Regions from separate parts of the Homo sapiens genome. Here region 2 is linked to region 1. Evidence: promoter capture Hi-C in 16 types of primary human blood cells and fetal thymus (Javierre and others, 2016). All regions are on one chromosome and are shown on one strand. The core of a region is centred on a gene start or on the middle of the fragment in contact, and the rest is flanking DNA. Distances in the headings are between cores, read along the strand shown.

Region 1 (6,831 bases), core at 163-2,662:
GTGGCAAAGGCATGGCTGCTTGCAGAGGTACGGGCAGACGTTGGATGTGGCTTGGAGTATCAGGATGGTATACAAGGCTCCTGGCAGGGAATGCAGGTGGGCACCAGAAACCAGAAAAGAAAGGGAAGTGGGAAAAGACTGGGAGCCATTTCTCCCCACACTGCCATATTCCAGCTGTGTTTCCAGGTATTCTAAGGAGTCTAGGGATTCTGAAGATGAACCTGGCCTTCTACATCATTATGAGGGTCTATTTGTCAATGTAGGAAAACAGACTATATTTTACTTTACAATTTGTTGCTTGATTTATAACTAAAATATTTAAACATACGGTGTGCTGGACTCCATTTGTACTCTTACCCAGGGCCTGCAAATGTTAGGAGCTGGCCTGACCAAGGGAATAAAGATTACGAAAATGTTCACCTTATTTTATTTTATTTTATTTTTTTGAGACAGCGTCTCGCTCTGTCGCCCAGGCTGGAAAGCAGTGGCACAATCTCGGCTCACTGCCACCTCCGCCTCCTGGGTTCCAGCGATTCTCCTGCCTCAGCCTCCCGAGTAGCTGGGATTACAGGCGCCCACCACCACGCCCGGCTACTTTTTTTGTATTTTTAGTAGAGACGGGGTTTCACCCTGTTGGCCAGGCTGGTCTCCAACTCCTGATCGCAGGTGATCCGCCCACCTCGGCTCCCAAAGTGTTGGGATTACAGGCGTAAGCCACAGCACCGGCCGACCTTATTTTGTGGTTATAGAGGGTACATTTTATAAAATTACTGCCACGGAGTGGGTAAGGCTCCTTTTCTTCAAGCCGCACAGAACGAATGTTCAGCGGTGCAATTTCATTGCAATCTATTTTTGCTTCACTTTGCTCATAATGACTCTTTTAGGATTTCCTCAGGTAACAATCTTCTTTCAATGTTCAATAATCCAAGCAGAACATTTTCTCACTTCATCCGCCTCCCATGCTAGGTTCACACTGTGAAATTGGCTTATCTCTGACCTAACCACTTCCTTCACCAGACATAGAGCTGGTGTAGCTCAAGGGAAAGAGGCACGGCGCTGGGAAATGATTAGGCCCCACCGTCCCAAGCAAGAGCTCAGGGGAGTTCTGAGGCTGGAGAGACCATTCGGGATATCACCCCGGGTTCCTGAGAACCTGAGATCTGCGGGGAGGCGTCAGGCATCCGGAAACGCCCGAGTCTGGGGAGACGGACCCCCTCAGACTTTCCTCTAGGAGACTCTACAGGTAAAGGGGAGTCCTGGGACTCGAGGGGAGCCCCGGCATCCAAAGGTAAGATCAGTTTTGCTCACCTGGCCGGGCGGCGTTGCGTCGCCTTGGTAACCACAACTTCCGGCTTGAACCGGAAGTCCGCGAAGTTGCTCTACAGAAAGTGTGCCCGCCCCCTCTGGGGCGGAGAGACTCAGCCCCTCCCCCTCAGCGGATAACCTGGGACTGACCGTTCCCTGGGGATCCGACGGGCCCCAGAGGACCCACGCCTGAGCCCCGTGCGACTCGTGGCCTTTGGGCTAGAAGCCATGGACGCCTTCACCCGCTTCACCAACCAGACCCAGGGCCGGGACCGACTCTTCAGGTGAGTCAGGTGCCAGCGGCCTCCGCCCCTTTCTCGCCCTAACTCGGCTCCCGTGCCTATTCCCCTGCACCCGGGAAAAAGGAGGTGATAGCCTAGTAGATGGAAGCAGGAAGGACGTTGCCAGCTCCTACGGAGGGAGTTTAGTATCCGAGCCCCTCCTTACCCTAAATTCAACGTGAGTGGGCCCAACGCACCCGCGTCCCGTCCTAGCCCCGTGCACGAAAGCCCCAGTGCCTGGCACCCTAGCCGCCTCGAGACCGCCGACGACGGGACACCGGCTGACAGATCCTCCTCCCCTCCTAACTTTGCTCTCCGGGCACAGAAAGATTGGTTCTCTCCACTCAACATTCTTCCGAGGGATCTCCTTTAAAGAGAAACTTTGGATTAGTATTTGTGGCTAGGGAAGCAAACCACTTGGTGTGACTTCAAATATCTCTCTTTTTTTTTTCTTTTGAGACGGAGTCTCGCTCTGTCGCCCAGGCAGTGGCGCGGTCTCGGCCCACTGCAACCTCTGCCTCCCGGGTTCAAGCGATTCTCCTGCCTCAGCCTCCTGAGTAGCTGGGATTACAGGCGTGCACTACCACGCCCGGCTACTTTTTGTATTTTTAGTAGAGACGGGGGTTTCGCCATGTTGGCCAGGCTGGTCTCGAACTCCTGACCTCAGGTGATCTGTCCACCTCGGCTTCCCAAAGTGCTGGGATTACAGGTGCGAGCCACCGCGCCCGGTCTCAAATACCTCTTGAAATGTTTGAGGAGAGACAGAAGTTCTCTTCCATTATTACCCAGGCTGTATCATTGAGATACTGCATGTGGAATAGTTTTGTAAATTGTAAAACAAAATATAGCGGGGATGAGACCACACCAACTGGATTGGGGGGAAATACAGTGGGGAGAAGCTCAGAAAGAACTAACTGCACCTCTAAGGTTCATGCTGTGCTACTGAAAATATTAAACAGAGATTGTGTCTCTTTTTCTTTTGGTTCCATAAGAAACGAAAAGAACTGAGAGATTGTATCTTTAATACGAATACAGTACTAGTTCATGATGTTTTAGAGATTTGGTTGATTCTTGCTTAATGAAAAAATATTTACAGTTGCAGTTTTATTTAACAGCTCTGCATTCTCTTCTGGGTGTGCAAGTGCTGATACAAACAGATCAATTAGAATGGCCCCAATAATGAGGCTTTTGGAAGCCATCTTTATGACAGCTATTGTTCCCAGTGTTTTGCAACTATGAACTTATATAACCCTCATCACAACCCTATGAGGTAGATACTCTAAATATTTTACCCACTTCAGATGGAGAAACTGAAGCAGAAAGAGGTTAATAGGTACTACAATGGCAGAACTGAGGGATTCACATCCACGCAAATGACTCCAGTGCCCACTTAACTACCAAGCTATACTGGCTTTCTCATTAGTTTGATAGGTTTTTTAAATGGTTACTTTATATACAAGCTTCATTAAATAGAAATTTCATTAAATAGAAACCTGTAATTCCAGTGTACCTAGAATGTACCCTGCAGGGTTTATCAAGGAAGTTGGTTAAAAAAATAATCATTTAGGCCGGGTGCAGTGGCTTACACCTGTAATCCCAGCACTTTGGGAGGCTGAGGTGGGCGGATCACAAAGTCAGGAGATCGAGACCATCCTGGCTAACATGGTGAAACCCTGTCTCTACTAAAAATACAAAAATTAGCTGGGCGTTGTGGTGGGCGCCTGCAGTCCCAGCTACTCAGGAGGCTGAGGCAGGAGAATGGCATGAGCCCAGGAGGCAAAGCTTGCAGTGAGCCAAGATCACGCCACTGCACTCCAGCCTGGGCAACAGAGCGAGACTCCTTCTAAAAAAAAAATAAAAACATTAAAAATAATAATCATCATCATTTAGGCCGGGTTCAGTGACTCACACCTGTAGTCCCAGCACTTTGGGAGGCTGAGGTGGGCAGATCATGAGGTCAGGAGTTCGGGACCAGCCTGGCCAACATGGTGAAACCCCATCTCTACTAAATATGCAAAAATTAGCTGGGCGTGATGGCACATGCCTGTAATCCCAGCTACTCAGGAGGCTGAGGCAGGAGAATCGCTTGAATCCGGGAGGCGGAGTTTGCAGAGAGCCAAGAACGCACCACTACCCTCCAGCCTGGGCAACAGAGCGAGACTCTGTCTCGAAAAATAATAATAATAATAATTTAAGATATGTTTATTCCAAAAGATCTGAGATCTCTAGCATTCATTTCCCAACCTCCTTGATGATCTGTATAACCTTTATGACCACACTGGCATTCATAAAATAATACCTTGCTTTCTGTGCCAATAATGCTCATGCAAACACGGTGAACATTCCTAAAACCTGTCAGACTGTAAGAAGTGTGGCAAGCACCAACCCCACAAAGTGACATAGTACAAGAAGAGCAAGGATTCTCTGTATGCCCAGGGAAAGCAGCATTATGACAGGAAGCAGAGTGGCTGTGGTGGGCAGACTAAGCCGATTTTCCAGAAAAAGTCTAAAACTACCAAGAAGTTTGTGCTAAAGCTTGAGTGTGTTGAGCCCAGTGAAGATCTAAGAGAATCCTGGCTATTAAAAGATGCCAGCATTTTGAACTGGGAGGAGATAAGAAGAGAAAGGGCCAAGTGATCCAGTTCTAAGTATCATCTTTTGTTTTATTATGAAGACAATAAAATCGAGTTTATGTTCACTTCAAAAATAAATAAATAAAAGTAATGTCTTACTGTTGGCCTGATCCTTATTATTAGACCAAAGCTCAGAAAGGCAGAATCATTGACATGACCAGTCCTGTAACCAGGAAGGACACTTAAAAAAGAGAAAGCGATTGTTTATGATTCCAGTCTTCTCTTTTTATTTCATTCCTAGTAACAAGTTCACTATTTTAGAAAATGAAAATGTACCGCATTTTTATTGAGAATAATATTTATAGCATAAAGGGATTCAAATGCACTTACAAGACAGTAGGAACCAGGCACCTACTTTATTAGTAGATTGCCAAATGGATTTGGATGTGTGACTATGTGATGTAAAATTTCTCCTACATTTATATTAGTAAGTCATTGTTATTTGTAAGCATGACAATAATCACTTTATTAAATATATAGTATTATTAAGCAGGATTCTGCCTGTATTTTATGTAAAATACGAATAAGTTTTGAAAGACAACTATGAAAACATATTTATACTAATTTATGTACTGATGTGTATTTGGTCCTTTCGTTTATAAAAAATTAAACAATCTTTAAACTGTGGACTTTTCATTTGGTTCTGGTTTGAGTTTGTGTCCTGTCACATAGATGGTAGGTTAAGTACATGGTAGAAAAGTTCATTTTAGAAATCTGAAAATCAGGCCAGGCACAGTAGCTTATGCCTGCAATCCCAGCACTTTGGGAGGTTGAGTAGGGCAGATCACGAGGTCAGGAGATCGAGACCAGCCATGACCAAAATGGCACAACCCCGTGTCTATTAAAAATACAAAAATTAGCTGGGCGTGGTGGCACACACCTGTAATCCCAGCTACTCGGGAGGCTGAGACAGGAGAATCGCTTGAACCAGGGAGGCAGAGGTTGCAGTGGAGCCAAGATCACACCACAGCACTCCAGCCTGGCGAAAGAGCGAGACTCGATCAAAAACAAACAAAAAAAAAACAAAGAAAGAAATCTACACTGGGGAAGAGAAGGAATATGGATCTTTGTAGACTTAACATGAGGGAGATTTTGTACAGTTTCTCACTTTGACTATATCCATTTCTCTGTGCCAGCAAAAGGCCTTTTGGAGGCACATTGGCTGCATTATTGCAGAATTTGTTTTCATTACCTTTGTGTTAAATTTCCATGACATGTTCTACCCTTTGGCTCTCCTGTAGAATGACTGTTGCAGAATTTTGCTTTTGTAAGAGTTGCTACATGAGAAATGGTCTTGGAAATGTTGTCTGGAGGCATGTGTTTCTCTTTCCCTTACTTCCTGAATTAAGTTTTATTTGGTTTGTAAATCATTCTTCTCAATTTTTTTTTTTCCATTTCAGAGCCACTCAGTACACATGCATGTTGCTTAGATATTTGTTAGAGCCCAAAGCTGGCAAAGAGAAGGTGGTAATGAAGCTCAAGAAACTGGAGTCCAGTGTGAGCACTGGTCGTAAATGTAAGTACCCTGTTTCTTGAGGGACAGTGACTCCTGGTTTAGAATCCTCAGCCTCAGACCCTGTAATTCACGGAGTAATTTCTAGGTCATTAATTTCTAGTCAATCAAGTTTATTGGTGAAATTGACCAGTAAGGCTGTCCTCATGGCACAACAGGTTTGAATGTGTTGCTGCAGACCATTCATAAACACCCTCTTATGTTCACATCTGGTGCTACACCTTATCTTTCTGCTGAATCATAACCAGTGAGACAGACAACGTGTTAGTTCACCTTTAGTTCTTAGAATCATAGTATGTTTTAGCAGTCTCTGACATGAGCTTCTGCTCCTGTGAGCCCCTTTATTCTAAACAAGAGTGGAATAGTTATATCCTAGACCACCTGCCTTTTTCCTTTATTGAGGAGTGCTAGAGGATATATAGGTGGATACATTTTTGTAGACCATGTTTGAGGTAGGTTTCATGCCAAAGGTAAAAAGTGAAATCAATATTTTGTGTTTATTAAATTTACTTTAATAATATGTCATACTGGGAAATCCAGTACTTTTCATAGCAATTGCCTTTCTGAGTCTTTGTTGTTTGATGAAAACCAGATGTTGCTATAGTAGGTTAGCAGAGGCATTAGAATGGAATGTAGAGCATCACATATTGATCAGTTGGTTTTGAGCACCTATGTTATATAGGTACATTCCTGAGCCTTATGGGAGAAGTAAGGTGCTTTAAATAATGATATATAAGATTTAGTGCCAAACTTGTTGGCTGAGGTAGAGGAAAAGAAAGGTGTTTTAGAGGAGGTGGAACTTGAGGTGAGGCTAGAGAGAAGGAAGAAGAGAGTTTCGAAGGGCAGTTTTCTCTAATAAAGGCTCAGAACTGAGTAAACCATTGTATGGGAGGATCATTGTCAAACTACAAAACTAGTTTGACAGATTTAAATTGTCAAGCAGAGGGATGGGAAGGGTAGGGCGAGCTTTTCTGGATGGCACTGAAGGCCAAGATTAGAAATTCTATTTAGATTATTTAGAATGTTGGAGCTGAAAGGTCCTTTAGAGGTCACTAGTCTGTAAGTCCAGAAGGGGCTTATCCAGGGTCATTCAGCCAGT
Region 2 (7,800 bases), core at 5,242-7,741, 400 kb before region 1:
CAGTAAGCAAGATAGATGTTGACTAGTATGATATATGGGTACAAGAGCTAAGGAAGGCCAGGCACTGTGGCTTACACCTGTAATCCCAGAATTTTGGGGGGCTGAGGTGGGAGGATTGCTTGAGGCTGGGAGCTCCAGACCAGCCTGGGCAATATAGTGAGACCCCATCTCTACAAAAATAAAAAATAAAATTAGCCAGGCACGATGGTGCATGTCTGTGGTCTTAGCTACTCAGGAGGATCATTTGAGCCCAGGAGGTCAAGGCTGCAGTGAGGTACAATTGTGCCACTGCACTCTAGCCTGGGTGACAAAGCAAGACCCTGCCTCCCCCTTCTCCCCCCAAAAAGAGAAGAGCTAAGGAGAAACAGGCAAGAAAGGTGTGTGCACAAAAGTTTGTATAGGGCAGCCAGAAAAGTCCTCACTGAAGGAATCGCTGAGGAGGGGAGGAAGCAGGCCATTTTCGGTATTGGGGGAAGAGGGACTCGCAGGTGCCAAGGGCATGATGGAAGAGCAGAGAGGATGGTGCGAAGGCTGGCTCAGCAGGCACCAGGTGGAGTGACAGGATGAGGTTCGGCAGTGGGGTCTGTAGAGGGCTCACAGGCCATTTTTGAGAGCTTTCGCTTTTACTTTGCAGGGTTTTGAGAGGAGTATCGTTACCTGATTTCCATCTTATCGGGAGCATTCTAGCTTCAGGGACCTGGCAAGAGAGGATGATGGCTTGGACCTGGGTGGTGGCGCTGGGGATGGTGAAGAAGTGGTTGGATTCTGGATATATTTTGAAGGAGGAGCCAGTAGTGGGGAAAGGTTCCAATTCAGGCGATTTTACATAAAAATCTAGATACGCAGCAGGCACTCACTTATGGCAAGGGTGGGCTTGTCTGAGGGTGGCTTCTGGTTTTGGTGGTTTGGATGTGAGAGAAGGGAAGGAATGAAGGATGACACCAAGGAGTCTACTAGAGTTTGTTCCAAAATGGCTGTTCTGGCCGCGTGCGGTGGCTCCCAGGACTTTGGGAGGCCGAAGCAGGCGGATCAGTTGGGGCCAGGAGTTCGAGACCTGCCTGGCCACCATGGTGAAACCCGGTCTCTACTAAAAATACAAAAATTAGCTGGGTGTGGTGGCAGGCGCCTGTAGTCCCAGCTACTCAGGGGCTGAGGCAGGAGAATTGCCTGAACCCAGGAGGTGGAGCTTGCAGTGAGCCGAGATCACGCCACTGCCCTCCAGTGTAGGCGACAGAGTGAGACTCTGTCTCAATACATACATACATACATACATACATACATGCATGCATACATACATACATACATACATAAAATATACAAAGTTGCTGTCCTGCCTTCTTGAGCCCCCAGGAATTGGAACCTTTCCCCACTCTCTGATCTTTTGCTGGGACATGCTGACTGAGCAGCCTTTCTGCTGAGAGCATGGGTAGGAATGTGGAGGGAGCAGTTATGCCTGGGGCTGGCTGCCTGCGGCTGGACCTCTAGCCTCCTGCTGGGAGCAGCAAGAAGCCAGGGATGTGTTTTGAAATCCTTACTTGGTATTGGGTGCTAGGAGCCCCAGACAGGGAGGAGAGTCAGCCTAACGTGCCTCTGGTGACTGGTGTAATTCCATCCTGCACTCTCGCCAAGAGGACAGTGTTTGTGCAATGCATCAGCTGAAGATTCGTGGTGGCTGTCACTTCGGAGGTTTTCAGGGAGGCCTAGCTGCTGCTCTGTGTATTTCAGGTAGCTTGTCACCACTTATCTCTCAGAGAAGGGCAGACCATGGCTGTATCTCCACCATACAGGCTGAACAGCAGACAGGGGTCTCAAACTCCAGTGCCCTGGGCCACACTGGAGGGCACTTGGCTGTCATGGAGTGAAGGGAGAGGCCGCCTTCAGCCCAGCCCATCCTTGCCATGAGTGAGTGCCTGCTGCATTTCTAGATTTTTATATAAAATCTCCTGATTTTTTTTGACTGGTTTAAATTTTTATTATTTTGGTAAAAAACGTATAAAACTTACCATCTTAGTCATTGTTCAGTGTACAGTATTGTTAAGTACATTCGCACTGTTGTGCAGACATTACCACCATCCATCACCAGAACTTTGTCACCTTGCAAAACCGAAACTCTCTACCCATGAAACAATACCTCCCCACTTCCCGTCCCCAGTCCCTGGCAGCCACCTTTTTACTTTCTGTTTCTATGAATTTGACTATTCTAGGTACCTCATGTAAGTAGAAGCATATAGTATTTGTCTTTTGTGACTGGTTTATTTCACTTAGTTAGCATAATGCCCCCCAGGTTCATCCACTTTGTAGCAGGTGTCAGAATTTCCCTTCTTTTCAAGGCTGAATCATATTCCATTGTATGTAGATAACAGTAGTCCCCCTTATCCTTGGAGGATGCATTTCAAGATCCCCAGTGGATACCTGAAACTGCAAAGCCTGTAGATACTATGTTTTTTTCCTATACATACAGATCTATGATAAAGTTTAATTTATGAATTAGGAACAGTAAGAGATTAGCAATAATAACTAGTAATAAAATAGAACAATTATAACAATATACTGTAATGAAAGTTACATGAATGTGATCTCTTAAAATATCTTACTGTACTGTACTCACCTATTTTCAGACTATGGTTGACTGTGGGTAACTGACACCACAGGTAACTGACGTCATGGAAATAAAACCTTTGATAAGGGGGGACTGTATCACATTGTCTTTATCCATTCATCTGTGATGGACACGTGGGTTGCTTCTATCTTTTGCTGTTGTGAACATTGCTGCTATGAATGTGGGCATACATATATCTCTTTCAGACCCCGCTTTCGATATTTTTGGATGTATATACAGAAGCAGAATTGCTGGATCATATAGTAATTCTTGTCCTTTTCTTTTCTTTTTTTTTTTCGAGACGGAGTCTTGCTCTCTTTCGCCCATGCTGGAGTGCAGTGGCGCGATCTCAGCTCACTGCAAGCTCCGCCTCCCGGGTTCATGCCATTCTCCTGCCTCAGCCTCCCCAGTAGCTGGGACTACAGGCGCCTGCCACCACGCCTGGCTAATTTTTTGTATTTTTAGTAGAGTCAGGGTTTCACTGTGTTAGCCAGGATGGTCTCGATCTTCTGACCTCGTGATCCACCCGCCTCAGCCTTCCACAGTGCTGGGATTACAGGTGCGAGCCACCGTGCCCGGCAGTAATTCTTTTCCTTTTAGCTAAGGAACACCCATACTGTTTTCCACAGCAGCTGCACCATTTCACATTCCCACCAACAGGGCACAAGAGTTCCAATTTCTCCACATCCTTGCTAGCACTTTATTTTCTGTTTTGTTTTTCTTTTCCTGATAGTAGCTCTCTTAGTGGTTGTGAGGGGATAGTGGGGTGATATCTCATTATGGTTTTGATTTGCATTTCCCTGATGATTAGTGATGTTGAGCATCTTTTCATGTGCTTGTTGGCCATTTGTATATCATCTTTGGACTTGAAATGTCTATTTAAGTCTTTTGTCCATTATATTTATTTATTTATTTTGAGATGGAGTCTTCCTGTTACCCAGGCTGGAGTGCAGTGGCATGATCTCTGCTCACTGCAACCTCCACCTCCTGGGTTCAAGCAATTCTCCTGCCTCAGCCTCCCAAATAGCTGGGACTACAGGTGTGTGTCACCACACCAGGCTAATTTTTTTTCTATTTTTAGTAGACACAGAGTTTCACCATTGTGGCCAGGCTGGTCTCGAACTCCTGACCTCAAGTGATCTGCCCTCTTCAGCCTTCCAAAGTGCTGGGATTACAGGCATGAGCCACGGTGCCCAGCCAGTCTTCTGTCCATTTTAACGTTGAGTTATTTGTTTTATTGTTGAGATTTACTGATTTTTAAAACTTGGTCACCAATTAAGATTTTTTTAAAAAACCAGTACCTGGAACAAGCAGAACAAGTCTCTGCTGGCCTTGGCTCATGTTGCTGTTCTCAGTTCCCCTGGGATGTTTGCTTCCAGGGAGGCCTGGGCACTCCTGACTTTGGTGACAGCCCTGCTTGCTCTCTCTCTGTTACCTGTAGGTTTCCCCTTCCACATTCACTGCCTCCGGGCAGGCACTGTTGTGTTTTAGGCATTTCAGTATCCCAGTGGGGTACTGGATAAGTGCTTAGTTAGCACCTGCCGGTGAGTAAATAATCAGGTCCTGTGGTCTCTGAGGGTTTGACACATCAGGTCTTTGATCTTGACCTTGAACTCTCCTAGCCATGCCTGCCTGAAGCCCAACCGTGGAGCCCAGGCTGAGGCTGAAACCTGAAGAACTGGCCCCAAGTGAGTCTCTCCTTAGGGCTCCTGATTATGATAGTTCATTTTTTTTTTTTTTTAACAAATTTGATTAGCTGTCCTCAAATTAACTCATAGGAGATGCTCCCCAGAACTAAACTAGCTCTGCAACAGCTCAACAGACTTTCCGCAGGTTCTGCAGCTCTTTCCACTCAAGCTTCAGAAAAAAGTGAAGGAATATTGTAGATTGGGTTCAAAATCCCCATCGCGTCTTGGGAAAGGCAGTAGAGCCAGCAGCCAGCCACCTTTTGTTCTCTAGGGAATGGAATAGTCCAAGGCTGTGTTTGTGTTCTGCTTCTCTACATCTGACCCACGGGTCTTCCAGAGGCTGCATTTGGGTCAGGGACCTGGGCTCTATCTTGCCTCTGATGCAGACCACACTCTCTGAGTCTCATTATTCCCCCTAAATGATCTCTAAGATTATTTTTAGATTAAAAAAAAAAAACAAACTCTTTGCATATCTTTGGAAAGTCAGTTGTTTGAGGTCTGTTAGGCTTTAATCACTTTTGTTTTAAATGTGCCGAGGTGGTTTCTAGGCCTGCTTTTCACAGGTATTCTGTCCCTTGTCAGTTCTTCCCACCCAGTTTTTTTTGTTTGTTTGTTTGTTTTTTTGAGATGGAGTCTCGTTCTGTTGCCCAGGCTGGAGTGCAGTGCCGTGATCTTGGCTTACTGCAACCTCCACCTCCCGGGTTCAAGCGATTCTCCTGCCTCAGCCTCCTCGGTAGCTGGGATTATAGGCACGTGCCACCATGCCTAATTTTTCTATTTTTAGTAGAGATGGGGTTTCACCATGTTGGCCAGGCTGGTCTTGAACTCCTTACCTTGAGTGATCCACCTGCCTCAGCCTCCCAAAGTGCTAGGATTACAGGCATGAGCCATTACACCCAGCCCCAACCCAGTGTTTTCAAATAATCATTCTCTTCCCTTCACCTGATTTGCTGTGTCTAATCTAGAGTGGAGCTGAAGACACATCACCACCTCTCTAAGGACTGTGTGTAACACAAGAGTAATTGGGCTGTAAGTGAGGCTGAGGAGTGCTGCTTTGAGGAAAGGGCACAGCTCTCAGCTGAGCTGGTGAGATTTCCCTGTGACTGAAGTTTTATTAGATCTTGTTCCCTGCTCTGCATTTGCTGCTTCTTCCCAGGCTGTGGGCAGAGGAGCAGGCTGGTGCCCCGGTGCCCCTATCTGCTGCAGGCTGAGGTTCAACAAGCCTTGTCCAAGGCAGCTGTACTGATTCATTGTTAGGTGGCCAGTTCCTGAGTTTTCTTTGAAATTCACTTCCCAGACTGTTGGGTATTCCTGCGAGTCAGACTCTCCTTCAGTAGCGTCCCCTGCCCCCTACCCTCCACTGGTCTCCCTGGACCTCTGATCAGCCCCTCATTGAGTCCTTTGATGCTTCTCTGGTAGGACTGACCCACCTGCGTCGGCTGGGATCAAGGGTTCTGAGTTCCATTCGCAGGTGCTGTAAGCCTGTCCTTCCTGTTGAATAGGGTCAGAGTCCTCGTGACTCTGCTGTTTTCAAGCTCTGTAACCTTGGGCAGTAAGCTGTTAACCTCTCTGAGCCTCAGTTTCCCACACTTAAAATGGAGATAATGGCCAGGCGTGGTGGCTCACGCCTGTAATCCCAGCACTTTGGGAGGCCAAAGTGGGTGGATCACCTGAGGCTAGGAGTTCGAGACCAGCCTGGCCAACATGGCAAAACCCCGTCTCTACTAAAAATACAAAAATTAGCCGGGCCTGGTGGCGTGTGCCTGTAATCCCAGCTACTCAGGAAGCTGAGACAGCAGAATCGCTTGAACCCGGGAGGCAGAGGTTGCAGTGAGCCGAGATCACGCCATTGCATTCCAGCCTGGGTGACAGACCAAAGACTCTGTCTCAAAAAATAAATAAATAAATAAATAAATTAATTAATTAAATAAAATGGAGGTAATGATACCTCCTTGGGGTTGTTTTTGGGATTAAATGGAATCACATTGTACAGCATTGGTACACTGTAAGGCACATAGTAGGCACTCAATACCTATCTATACTATTTCCTTTATCACCACAAGTTAGTTGAGGGCTCTTGGGTTGCACGCAACAGACAAAGTTAGTGACTGGTTAACTTGGAGAGGATTTTATTATGAGCTACACAGCGTAGCTCATAGAATTGCAGGGAAAACTATAAAGAACTAAGTCTTGGACAAAAGTAATATCTTGGCATGGGCCTGTAGCCCCAGCTACTAAGGAGGCTGAGGTGCAAGGATTGCTTGAGCCCCGGAGTCTGAGCCTGGCTTGGGCAACAGAGAGAGATAAAGAGACCCTGACTCTAAACAATAAGTAAATACATAAAAGAGGACCCAGGCCCTCCTTAGGAACTGGATGGCAGGAGCCCCTGGACAACCTCTTACTGATTTGGTGCTGGATGAGGCAGCCGCAGCTAGCCAGTGTTCTTTGTGTTGATCTCCTCTGCCTTCATATTCCAGGGGGAGAGGGTCTGACAGGCCAGACTGGCCCCCACCCTCTTGGCCACTGGTGGGCTGGGCATGTTTTTGGGTAGTTCTACCTAGCCAGATTAAAGTGGGGGTGGGGTGGGGAGTCCAGCCAGCCTGGGCAACAGGGCAAGACTCCATCTCTACAAAAAAATTTTAAAATTAGGCTGGCACGGTGGCTCACGCCTGTAATCCCAGCACTTTGCGGGGGTCAAGGCAGGTGGATCACTTGAGGTCAGGAGTTTGAGACCAGCCTGGCCAACATGGTGAAACCCTGTCTCTACTAAAAATACAAAAAATTAGCCAGGTGTTGTGGTGCACACCTGAAATCCCCGCTACTTGGGAGGCTGAGGCCCGAGAATCACTTGAACTCGGGAGGCGGAGGTTGCAGTGGGCTGAGATCATGCCACTGCACTCCCACCCTGGGGGACAATAGCGAAACTTCGTCTCAGAAAAAAAAAAAATTAAAAATAGCTGGGTGTGGTGGCATGCGCCTGTAGTCCCAGCTACTTGGGAGGCTGAGGTCAGAGGATCACTTGAAGCCAGGAAGTCAATGCTGCAGTAAGCTATGATGGCATCAGTGCATTCCAGCCTGACCAATGGAACAGGACCCTGCCAAGAAAGAGAGAGAGAAAGGGAGGAAGGAACGAAAGGAAGGAAGGAAGGAAAGAAAGGAAAGGAAGGAAAGAAAGGAAAGGAAGTAAGTAAGGATGGATGGATCCAGGTGCTCTAAACCAGCAGTTCCCAAAGTTTTTGGCACCAGGGGCCAGTTTCATGGAAGACAATTTTTCCACGGGTGGCAGGGTGGTGGGCAGCGGGGATGGTTTTGGGATGAGTCAAGTGCATTACATTTATTGTGCACTTTATTTCTATTATTATTACATTGTAATATATAATGAAAAAATTATATAGCTCACCATAATGTACAATCGGGGGGTCCTGAGCTTGCTTTCCTGCAACTAGACAGTCCCATCTGGAGGTGCTGGAAGACAGTGACAGATCATCAGGCATTAGATTCTCATAAGGAGTA

The links. Contacts are between HindIII fragments. The CHiCAGO score rates a contact against its expected background, and 5 or more counts as called.
Region 2: a fragment that was not itself captured here is called in contact with the fragment with the promoter of PEX11A in region 1 in 1 of 17 cell types (megakaryocytes); the score reaches 5.1 in megakaryocytes.

What each region holds. Positions count from the first base shown.
Region 1 is chr15:89,685,335-89,692,165 of GRCh38, reverse strand. It overlaps PEX11A (peroxisomal biogenesis factor 11 alpha), which reads left to right and starts at 1,412. Exons shown (of 3, transcript NM_003847.3): 1 at 1,412-1,589; 2 at 5,620-5,735. The coding sequence starts at 1,534. It overlaps WDR93 (WD repeat domain 93), which reads right to left and starts at 1,355. Exons shown (of 17, transcript NM_020212.2): 1 at 1,309-1,355. It also overlaps the pseudogene RPL36AP43. RefSeq lists an enhancer at 1,488-1,577. The HindIII fragment of the contact is 13,947 bases long and covers 1-3,048 here.
Region 2 is chr15:90,092,013-90,099,812 of GRCh38, reverse strand. The region is part of intron 1 of IDH2 (isocitrate dehydrogenase (NADP(+)) 2); the gene reads left to right. Among named protein-coding and RNA genes, the nearest start is that of IDH2-DT, 6.2 kb to the left of the region's middle. RefSeq lists an enhancer at 3,863-4,387. The HindIII fragment of the contact is 4,065 bases long and covers 4,459-7,800 here.